Regions from separate parts of the Homo sapiens genome. Here region 2 is linked to region 1. Evidence: promoter capture Hi-C in human tissues and cell types (Jung and others, 2019). All regions are on one chromosome and are shown on one strand. The core of a region is centred on a gene start or on the middle of the fragment in contact, and the rest is flanking DNA. Distances in the headings are between cores, read along the strand shown.

Region 1 (5,344 bases), core at 1,744-4,243:
GAAAGAAAAGAGAAAGAAGGAAAGAAGGAAAGGAAGGAAGGAAGGAAGGAAGGAAGGAAGGAGAGGGGGAAGGGAGGGGAGGGGCGAGGGGAGGAGGGGAGGGGAGAGGAGAGGAGAGGAAAGGAGAGGGAGAAAAAGAGAGAGAGAGAGAGAAAGAGAGAGAGAGAGAAGATGGGGAAGGTCCCTTCTGGGTTTCCATCTAAAATCAAAGAAGAAATCATTGGTTTCAATAATAATATTTTAAAATCCACCCTATGATTTTTTTTTCTTTAAAAGAAAAATATCAATCTAAGAAAATAATACCTAACATGGTGTTAATGAAAAGTAGGTTGGATTGGTTATGTGTACATAAGAACTTAAAGCTCAAAGGAAAAACAGCACGTATACCAGCATGTTGACCTGGCTCCGCTGACAGCCAGGATTACCAGTTATTTCACTTGGTGTGTACCAGTGCTACTTGGAAACTACCCACCTTCCATGAGCAGGTCTACTCAATAAAATCTTACTTTCATGAGGCTGTGAGGATATCCAAATGGGGACATTTCTTATACTCAGAAGACCACAAGTCACGAATGTGGCCACTTCTGATTCTGACTTCAGGGGTCACCCAGACCCCAAGCCACCCCAACCCGATAAAGGCAAGTTCACCTTGGGCAAAGTTCAGAGCCAGCAGCACAGCTGAAAGGCAGTGGACAGCACTTTCAGATGCTGTATTCCAACATTTCAACTGACATGAAGTGAGGCAAGAGGGGAAATAACTAACAGTAATCTGATTAAAAAACAAAAGAGAAAAAAAAAAGGGCCTGGTGTGGTGGCTCATGCCTGTAATCCCAGCACTTTGGGAGGCCGAGGCGGGTGAATCACCTGAGGTCAGGAGTTCGAGACCAGCCTGGCCAACATGGCAAAACCCCATCTCTACTAAAAATACAAAAATTAGCCGGGCATGGTGGCACGTACCTGTAATCCCAGCTACTAGGGGGGCTGAGGCAGGAGGATTGCTTGAACCTGGGAGGCGGAGGTTGCAGTGAGCCAAGATTGTACCACTGCAGTCCAGCCTGGGCAATGGAGCAAGACTCTGTCATTAAAAAAAAAAAAAAAAAAAGGACTGGCCTGGGTTTACAGGTAGCTCACACCTGTAATCTGAGCACTTGGGGAGGCTGAGGCAGGAGGACTGCTTGAACCCAGGAGACCAACCTGGGCAATACAGCAACACACTGTCTCTACAAAACATTTAAAAAATTAGCTGGGTGTGGTGGTACACATCTGTAGTCCTAGTTACTCAGGAGGCTGAGGCAGGAGGATTGCTTAAGTCCATGAGTCTGAGGTTGCAGTGAGCTATGACTGTGCCACTCCATTCCAGCCTGGGTGACAGAGTGAGATCCCATCTCTAAATAAATTAATAGACCATAAATTCTGTAATGTGAATCTTTAGACAAAGACTGCTAAATCTATCATCTGATATATGAAGTTTTATTACAACAAATGTTTATATATTGAGTTAAAAATTATCTGTACCCATACACACAACCTGCATTTACTTAATTTAAAAGGAGTGTCAATATTAAAATTGAGGATTTTGGCCAGGTGCGGTGGCTCACGCCTATAATTCCAGCACTTTGGGAGGCCGGGTAGATCATTTGAGGTCACAAGTTTGAGACCAGCCTGGCCAACACGGTGAAACCCCGTCTTGACTAAAAATGCAAAAATTAGCCGGGCATGGTGGTGTGCCCCTGTAATCCCAGCTACTGGGGAGGCTGAGGCGGGAGAATTGCTTGAACCCGGGAGACAGAAGCTGCAGTGAGCCGAGATCGTGCCACTGCACTCCAGCCTGGGCAACAGAGCGAGAACCCATCTCAAAAAAAAAAAATTGTTATTTTGTTGTTATTGTTGTTTTTGAAGACAGAGTCTCACTCTGTTGCCCAGGCTGGAGTGCGGTGGCATGATCTTGGATTGTGTTCTTCCAGGGTTGCAGAGAGAAGTGCAACAGCGTCTCATTGCAACCTCTGCCTCCCAGGTTCAAGCAATTCTCCCGCCTCAGCCTCCCAAGTAGCTGGGATTACAGGAGTGCACCATCACACCCAGCTAATTTTTGCATTTTTAGTAGAGATGGAGGTTTCACCATGTTGGCCAGGCTGGTCTCGAACTCCTGACCTCAGGTGATCCGCCTGCCTTGGCTTCCCAAAGTGCTGGGATTACAGGTGTGAGCCACCATGCCCAGCCTAAGAATAATAACTTTATAACTATGAAAAATGTGTTACATATTCACCATTTTGCCAGCATTAATCTCAAAGCATAAGTTTTACCTTTTGGGGATAAAGAGATAGATTGTGTTTTAGCCATATGACCAATGTAGAAACAAGCTAAGGTTAACTCCTCATCTAATGAATAGGCCCGATAAAAAAGTTGGTTGACCACAACATGAATAAATAAATAACCATAAGCTTGGAAATGCTACCTGTAGTATTTCAGAGTGTCGATCACATTTGTAGTCATCACTTAAAGAATTAATGTCTGCCAATGTTATCATCTAAAATGTATTTACAGAGGTCAGAAGAGCTATGTCTGTCCTCCTCTATGCAAAGAGGTGATGACATCAAGGGGTATGTCACAAGCCAAAGTTTAGTTAGCCTAAGTTAGTTAGCTGGTTTGCAGTTTTTATCCACTAAGTCTGATCTTCTGACCCCTCAGTTTTACAACTTTCCACTCTCTGTGCTGCATAGCACCTCTCCACTTCTGAGTTAATCATTTCTTTGCCATTATCTGGCAAGAATTCTTATCTCTTTTGCTGTCACTTTATAACAGGGTCCTCTTATCAACCTGCATAGAGTCATGTGATGAGTCAAAGCCTATCAAAAGTTTCCATTCTTCTGATTAGAAACCATCATGAAACTGGATACATGGTTTACAGCAGGTCACTAATGTTGGAAAAAGTACAGAGTCCAGGGAAAGACTTGCTTGTAACTTTATGAATTCTGGATTTTTTTTTTTCCTTTGCTTTTTCTTAACTTTCACTAAGGGTTACTGTAGTCTGATGTGTCCTTCCCAAGGCCACGAAATTTGACAAGCTGCACTTTTCTTTTGCTCAATGATTTCTGCTTTAAGCCAAAGAACTGCCTATAATTTCACTAAGAATGTCTTCTAATTCAGATACTGGGGATTTACAAGAGTCTTTAAAGCACGGACTTACACCTATTGGTAAGTAGGAGTTTCTCTATTGATCATCTATTTATTCTGCTACTACATACATATAATTTAATCTTGTTGATGGATTTTGCATTTTAAGTCATGGCTTTTCCTATTATGTTTATTAAAAGCACACAATAAGCCTATGTATATATATCACACATTTATCTTTCTTGCAGTTCAAAAAAAGCAAATGGATATTTCAACATATGAATATTATTCATTATATCTAGTGTTTACTGGTGTCATTCTAATACCCTAATCAGCCAGAAAATATAATTTATACTTTATCAATTTCAACTTTAATATTTTCTGATAATTTTTAATCAGAAATAATAAGCTAAAATTTGAACAATTTGAAACAAGTTAATCATATTGAGTGATCATTGATCAAACTTTAACAGATAGCTGTCAAGTATTTGTTACTTTTCAACCCACACAAAAGTATGGTGTCTTATTCTCTGCTTATACCGTAAAAAATTTTCATTTTATTTTCCTGGGGAATGAAAGTCATGCCCCCACCTCCAAAAAAAAAAAAAAAAAACCAAAAAAACTAGACCATCATTAGTAAAGGATTTGAAGAGCTACTGTTTCTCGCAACAATTAGTATATTTTGTTTTTACAAACAGAAATAAGTAAATAAAGCTACTATTCATTTAAAAAATAGAGTTACAAACTTATGAATTTTATAGCAAGACTACATTCAATTAATTCTAAAAGTAAAGGACTGAAGGGAAGTGATTCCCAGTGATCTGTAATTATTTGTCTGTTGGAAGTCAGGCCCTTCTGCCTTTCCCCAGTTTTTGAAGGACCTGTGCCTTTTCTGGCAGCATTTGCCTAGGCTTTCAGACTGGAATTTCCCTCCGAATTTGCAGGGGCCTGTCATGAGCTCTCTGAGTCTCAGCTCCATTATAACAAGAAAGAAAATCAAGGCTTGAGTTTTTCCTCTTTTTTCCTTCCTAGTCAGCTGACTCCACAGAATGCAGTGGAGTCACAGATTGCTTTTTTTATGGGCCAACTACACCCTAAAGTATATCACTTGAGGAAATGTTTACCAAAAATGTTCTATACTTACGAAAAAGAAAACATGGGGAAGGTAAGCAGGGTGTAACACACAATCAATTGTTCTGCAGATAACACAGAAAATACAGGCACAAGAAAGATGAGAGAGCAGCACACAACCATTTCGCATCTTTTTCGTCGGGCAGAACCGCCGCGGTGCGCAGGCAAGGAGTCCTTCCCGGCAGCTCCGCGCAGCTCCGGTTCCGCGTCCGGGGCCGCAGCTAGAGCGCGCTCGGGCCGGAGACGCGGACTGCGCGCGCACGGGGGACGCGCGCTCGGGGGCTCGCGCCCGCGCGGGCGGTCTTGGGCTCCTGCTGCGCGCAGCCCCAGCTGGCCGCTGCCAAAATAGAGTTGAGCTGGGTCGGGAGACCACGCACGCCGATCCCTCACAGTCTCCCCCACACCCCATGGGTGAATTAAAGAGGGTAAGGTAGGGGAAAGAGACGCTGTTGCACTTTTCTCTGCAACCCTGGAAGAACTGTGTTTCCAGCTACCGCACGCGCAACTCACATCGCAAGGGACCGAGGCGGTACACTCTGAGCGTAAACAGAGAACACCTGCAGCTCTGGAATCGGTCCCACCGCAGAGGGCTGGGAACCGGAGGACTGTCGGTCCAGCCCATAAGGGGCTGCTGGGGACTAAACCTCAAGAAAAGTACCGAAGAAGGCTCTCCCCTGGCCTCAGCGAGACTACCCCAACATCCTAAACCTGTGCAGGCACTTCCGGGCGCCGGATTCCGGGATAACAAAATTCCAGTCAATTTGCCGGTAAAAGAGACCTCTTTCAGGATCTTGTTCGCAGCCACCCGCCCCTTCCCAACCCAAGCACATCCCCTCCGCCTCCTGGTATTGCAGCCCCGCAGGTGGTTGTGAGGTGTCCGCACCTGCAACATCTTAGTGACCCTGAGGCGGCTGTGGCACCGGGAGACAATCTGTTTACCTCGTAGCCTCCACGAGGGTGCTAACGGTCGTTCCCAGGGTGAATGGCTGGACGGAGCCATCCAAAGGGCTGAGGGAGAGGAACAGAGGGCGGTGAGGAGCCTTCGGACTGAACTATTGGATTGAAGGGCCTGACCCGATTCCTGAGGGAGAGATGCCCC
Region 2 (5,344 bases), core at 2,126-4,625, 130 kb after region 1:
AATGCATTTTAAGCAGGAATTGAAAATGTACTAAGAATGAGACAATAATGTATGAGCAAGTACTTACTTTGTTTCTTACTTTAGGTAAGAAAAAATAAAAGGAAGGAGGAAAGGTATGGAGGGGGAGATAGAGGGATGGAGGGAAAAGAAAAGGAAAGAGAAGTAGATAGAAAATCAAACACAGATGAAAGCAAAGACAATTATGATTATAATTATTTCATTCCCTAATCATGTAAGATTTGAATTTTCTAATTAAGAAAAAAGAACAAAATTAGTTCATATGTCAAAAAGAGGATTCTAAAATTGCACTGACATAAATGTTATTCTGTGATTCAGTTGCATTCTTAAATTGGTGTGTTATTTATGCAAATTATGGTAAGAAAAATAATTTTGGATATTTTTGTTTTACAAATATATTTTTCACTTTCACCACATTATTTCCAGAAGTATCTTTCCTTCCACAGGGGTTCCCTGTCTGCTCTTGCTTCCTCCAGCTCCTCAATATATGTACCTTTCAGGGTTGTTTCAGCAGTCCTGAAGTTGTGTGTGTGTGTAAGCATGATTAAGAGTACTTTTGTGGGAGTGTGCTATTGCCAGCCTCACAGATGGTGTTATTTCCTGTGTTAGACTTCCTACTTACTGATAGCTGGGCTCACACTTGACATCCTCTCTTAACTGCCTCTAGACCAAAACATGCAAAGTCTTGCAGTGTGGGAGGGAACCTGTGGCTGTGCATTGGGTTCAGTTGATAACAATAATCACCAGCCCTGATGAGTCACCAGAGAGCAATGGGGTGATACTCAAGTACCAGAGAGATGGTGGTGGTCTCTGGTGGCCCCACCACTGTCCACCACTTGCAAGTAGATAAACTGGTCATTAAAGGAGCTGTGGAGAGCCAGATGCAGTGGCACATGCCTGTAGCCCCAGCTACTGCAGAGGCTGAGGCAGGAGGAACACACAAGGCCAAGAGTTTGAATCTGACCTGGGCAACATAGTGAGACCCCTATCTTTAAAAATAAAGAAATAAGTAAATTTTTAAAAAGAAAGGCATTATGAGAGTTTCAGCAGAACATTTAGGAAGGGTCTTCTAGAGATAATGATGGACAAGTCAGTAAGCTGCTTGTTCACACACTAATGTCCAGTTCATGTTGACTGCTATCTACCCACGTCTTCTCTTCTGGCACCTGCCTTAGTGGCTGGAAGCTCTCTCAGAAGCTTAAAAAGATGCTTTTATTTTACCTACCCAACAAGGTTTCTACGCATTCCAGCCTCCAAGGAGGGGTGGTTCCCCTTTGTGAACTGAGATTTAGGAATATCTATGTTTACAACTCCGGGACTAAGATTCAATAAAGCTTCAGGAGGGTGGAAGTGCAGCTTGTGAGGGCAAAACTTTAGAATCCAGTGGACTTCTTAAGGTCATCTGAACAGTGAGAGTAAGTACTAGGCTCTTATCCCACTTCCACCACCAACCAATGCAGAAGTGGGATTAAGATTGATAATCCTGAGATAGCATTAAATGTTTTGATACAGGCATGCAATCCATAATAATCACATCAGATAAACAGTTGTTCTGTGCACACAATCTAACATTTATGCATTTTTTCTTTAAAAAACCTTTCTGCATCCAAATGGCACATTCATTAAGTTTAAAATGAAGCACAAAAGATAGAGATAAAATGAAGCAACTCTATAATTATATAAATTATAAATCTTACTGTAATAATTATACAGTAGACTTGGAGAAAGACAGGCCTTTCAAGAATTGGTTTTTAGAGATGTGTCTAATGCCTTAAAGAAGTGTTTGCTTTAAAATCTTGAAAAAGCCTCATGTAGAAGTGAGATGTTGTAAAGTCATCATTGGCTTTGGCCACTGCCAGGTCGACTACCAGTTTGCTATTTGTGATGTATTTCACTATTTTGGAACTTACAAAGCTATTCCTGATTTCCTTCTGTTAATGGAGGATTAATGACAATGCTGAATCCACAGATAATAATAAAAAAATTTTTTTTTTTTTTGGACAGTCTCACTCTGTCACCCAGGCTGGAGTGCAATGGTGCGATCTTGGCTCACTGCAACCTCCACCTTTTGGGTTCAAGCGATTCTCCTGCCTCAGCCTCCCAAGTAGCTGGGATTGCAGGTGCCAGCCACCATGCCCAGCTAATTTTTGTATTTTTAGTAGAGACGGGGTTCCGCCATGTTGGCCAGGCTGGTCTCGAACTCCTGACCTCAAGTGATCCACCCGCTTAGTCTCCCCAAGTGCTGGGATTACAGAGGTGAGCCACCGCGCCTGGCCCAAAAATCAAATTTTCAACAGTTACTTAAATCCACTACTTCCCAAGATGAAAGCTTTATTACCAACTGAAACTTAGAGAACTATGAGTGGTCGTGGGCTGCCTCTGAACTTGCTGTGGGTATATTTACTGAGCCACCATGGGGGTCATGTGAAGAGTCTAGGGTTTTGTTTTACATCCTTAACACTTCAGTTTTGAAAATCCCTATAAGACAGTAATAGTTCTATAGGGTAAACTCCAAAGAGGGCTTCTGTAGGGGGCATAGGAGTGGCACCCACAGTTGTGGGAACGTCAGCAAACCTGCATCCTCCCTCAGGGGAGAGGTCAGAGCAACTCAGAATATTATGACTACTGAAACAACTTTTTGACTTCACGATGCTGCAAAGCAATCCACATCCAGTAGAAACCATACTTCAAGTACCCATACAACCATTCTGGTTTTTCTGAGACGGAGTCTCACTCTGTCACCCAGGCTGGAGTGCAGTGGCGTGATCTCTGCTCACTGCAACTTCTGCCTCCCGGGTTCAAGCAATTCTCCTGCCTCAGCCTCCCAAGTAGCTGGGATTACAGGTGCCCCCCCACCACACCCGGCTAATTTTTGTATTTTTAGTAGAGAGGGTGTTTCACCATCTTGACCAGGCTGGTCTTGAACTCCTGACCTCGTGATCCACCCGCCTCGGCCTCCCAAAGTGCTGGGATTACAGGTGTGAGCCACCGCACCTGGCCCATTCTGTTTTTTAGTTTCAGTACAGTATTCAATAAATTACATGAGATACTCAACACTTTATTATAAAATAAGTTTTTGGTTAGATGATTTTGTCCAACTGTGGGCTAATGTAAGTATTCTGAGCACATTTAAGGCAGGCTAGGCTAAGCTATGATGTTCAGAAGGTTAGGTGTAGTAAATGAATTTGTGATAATATTTTCAACTTACGATGGGCTTATTGAGACATAACCCCATCGTAAGTTGGAGCATCTATATTGCCGACATCTTAACAGAGCCGCTCTCTGTATATGCTGACTGATACATTAGGCTTGGGATAAATCATATCTGACCTTTCCTTATAATAGCACTGGGTGGACTTCAAAGGTGGAAGAGATATTTCTTGTTCAATTAAGTCATCATTGCAGAAAGATGAAACAGATGATACTTTATAAGCCAGGCACTGTCCTACCTTGTGGTAATTCCTATTAAAACACATTTAAAAGATTAGGAAACTGAAACTTAGAGCAATTTACTAATTTCAATGTCTTATGGCCAGTGCAGTGTTCACGGATTTAAAATCACTTCAATGCAAGTATCAATAATTCTGCTAAATAATCAGGAGTTGACTATAATTAATCTGCAAAAACCAAACAATTTTCCCCACTTGAATTAATGATTTCTGGGTGTGAAAGGGAATGGTCACCACATAGTCTTAGTTTCCTTCCATGCAAACCTTAGAATTGAGCATAGCACTTACGAAACCAATATGATCAGATAATAAGATATCTTACTATTATCACTGTCTTAGCAAAATCTGTCATTACACTGAAAAAAAAATAGGATAGCTTCTTTTGCAAATGTTTCAAGCTCCAAAAGTTCTTAGAATAATCTTTCTTGTTATTTTCTCTGCCACATGGTTACACAAATACAAAACAAATTGGAAATATGGATTTTCTGTCTTTCATATACAAATACATATCCCTGAGCAATTGAATGAATTATTAATTTGTTTTGTCCAAAAATGGATAAGTATTTGGCTTTAATGATCTTGTTAGGCAACTAGTTTCCCTTCCCTTATAGTTCTCAACTCCAGAGACCCTCTCTTTTCATTTTTCAAGCAAATAATTCAGAATCAGTGTTGATCCACTGCATGATTTTTCCCCCTTCATTTCAACCTCTGATCTTACTGAGCAGAATTTTAATAGCTAAGGGAAATGATGTAATAATAAGTAACAAGTATATCTAGCTCTTAAAGAGTAGCTTTAATTTAACTCTACAAACTCATAAAATATTGGATATTTAGAATGAATGTAGATAGTAACAGTTCTCATATGGGCATAAAATTGCAAGAATTTTACTGATTGTGATGTATTACTTTTAGCACAAATAGAATGTACCAAGTACAATAAACTTCACTAATTCAGGACATTTCAACTTGGCAACAAAAAGCTCAATTTATATGTACTTAAAGAAATGCAATTTTAGTAACCTCAGTCTAATGCTTAATTAAAGTAACATGTTAACACAGTGGGGCACAATTAAAAAGGAGTTGGGAGCATCAGCTATAATATTCAAATACCTAGTTTTTTTCCAATCCAATTAATCTATTTTGTGTGTCTGTCTCAGAAAGGATAGTACCAGACCTGCCAAAGGTGTTGGCGGGAGTGAGATAAAGTAGATGCAAGGGGTTTAATAAAAATTCAAAGAATGACATAAATATAAAGTATTATTCTCAGAGATTACAATTCACAATTAGCCTGCATTTTATAAAATACCTCTAAAACATCTTCAACATTTAAAAATTGGATGTTAAAATTGGTGATACATTAATAATACTCTTCATTCCTTGAATTTCTGATTCTGTTGCTGACTTTAGATAGAATTTATTTTTCATCAGTTACATACTCAAAGGCTAAAACAGGAAGGCATTCTTTTTTGAGACAAAGTCTCACTATGTCACCCAGGCTGGAGTGCAGTGGCGTGATCTCAGCTCTCTGCAACCTCCACAGAAAGGCATTCTTTAAACTTCTTATCCAAAATAAACCCAAATACAATTTCCGAAGTAGCATAGAGTTCAAGTTGCTGAGTCTTACCTAGTGAACCATCAGCCAACACTGTAGAACATCATGGTGCTGCCATATAGTGTATTTCTTGCTGTTAGGAAAGCAAAATTCCCTATCCTATTCTGCATTCTGGTATTGACCTGACCTTAATATGTTTGATTCTTTTTTTTTTTTTCCTAATAGGGACAGGGTCTCTGTCACCCAGGCTAGAATGGCCCGATCACAGTTCATTGCAACCTCAAACTCCTGGGCTTAAGCAATCCCCCCGCCTCAGACTCCTGAG

The links. The method cuts DNA at HindIII sites, captures the fragments that hold promoters and counts their contacts. A contact is called where the count stands out against the background at its distance.
Region 2: a fragment that was not itself captured here is called in contact with the fragment with the promoter of NR5A2 in region 1 in 1 of the 25 tissues and cell types used here (small bowel).

Annotation. Positions count from the first base shown.
Region 1 is chr1:200,024,717-200,030,060 of GRCh38, forward strand. NR5A2 (nuclear receptor subfamily 5 group A member 2) reads left to right here and starts at 2,994. Exons shown (of 8, transcript NM_205860.3): 1 at 2,994-3,195. The coding sequence starts at 3,132. RefSeq lists enhancers at 4,658-5,158, 5,159-5,344. The HindIII fragment of the contact is 6,457 bases long and covers 282-5,344 here.
Region 2 is chr1:200,153,679-200,159,022 of GRCh38, forward strand. All of the region lies in intron 7 of NR5A2 (nuclear receptor subfamily 5 group A member 2), which reads left to right. Among named protein-coding and RNA genes, the nearest start is that of NR5A2, 130 kb to the left of the region's middle. The HindIII fragment of the contact is 3,052 bases long and covers 1,850-4,901 here.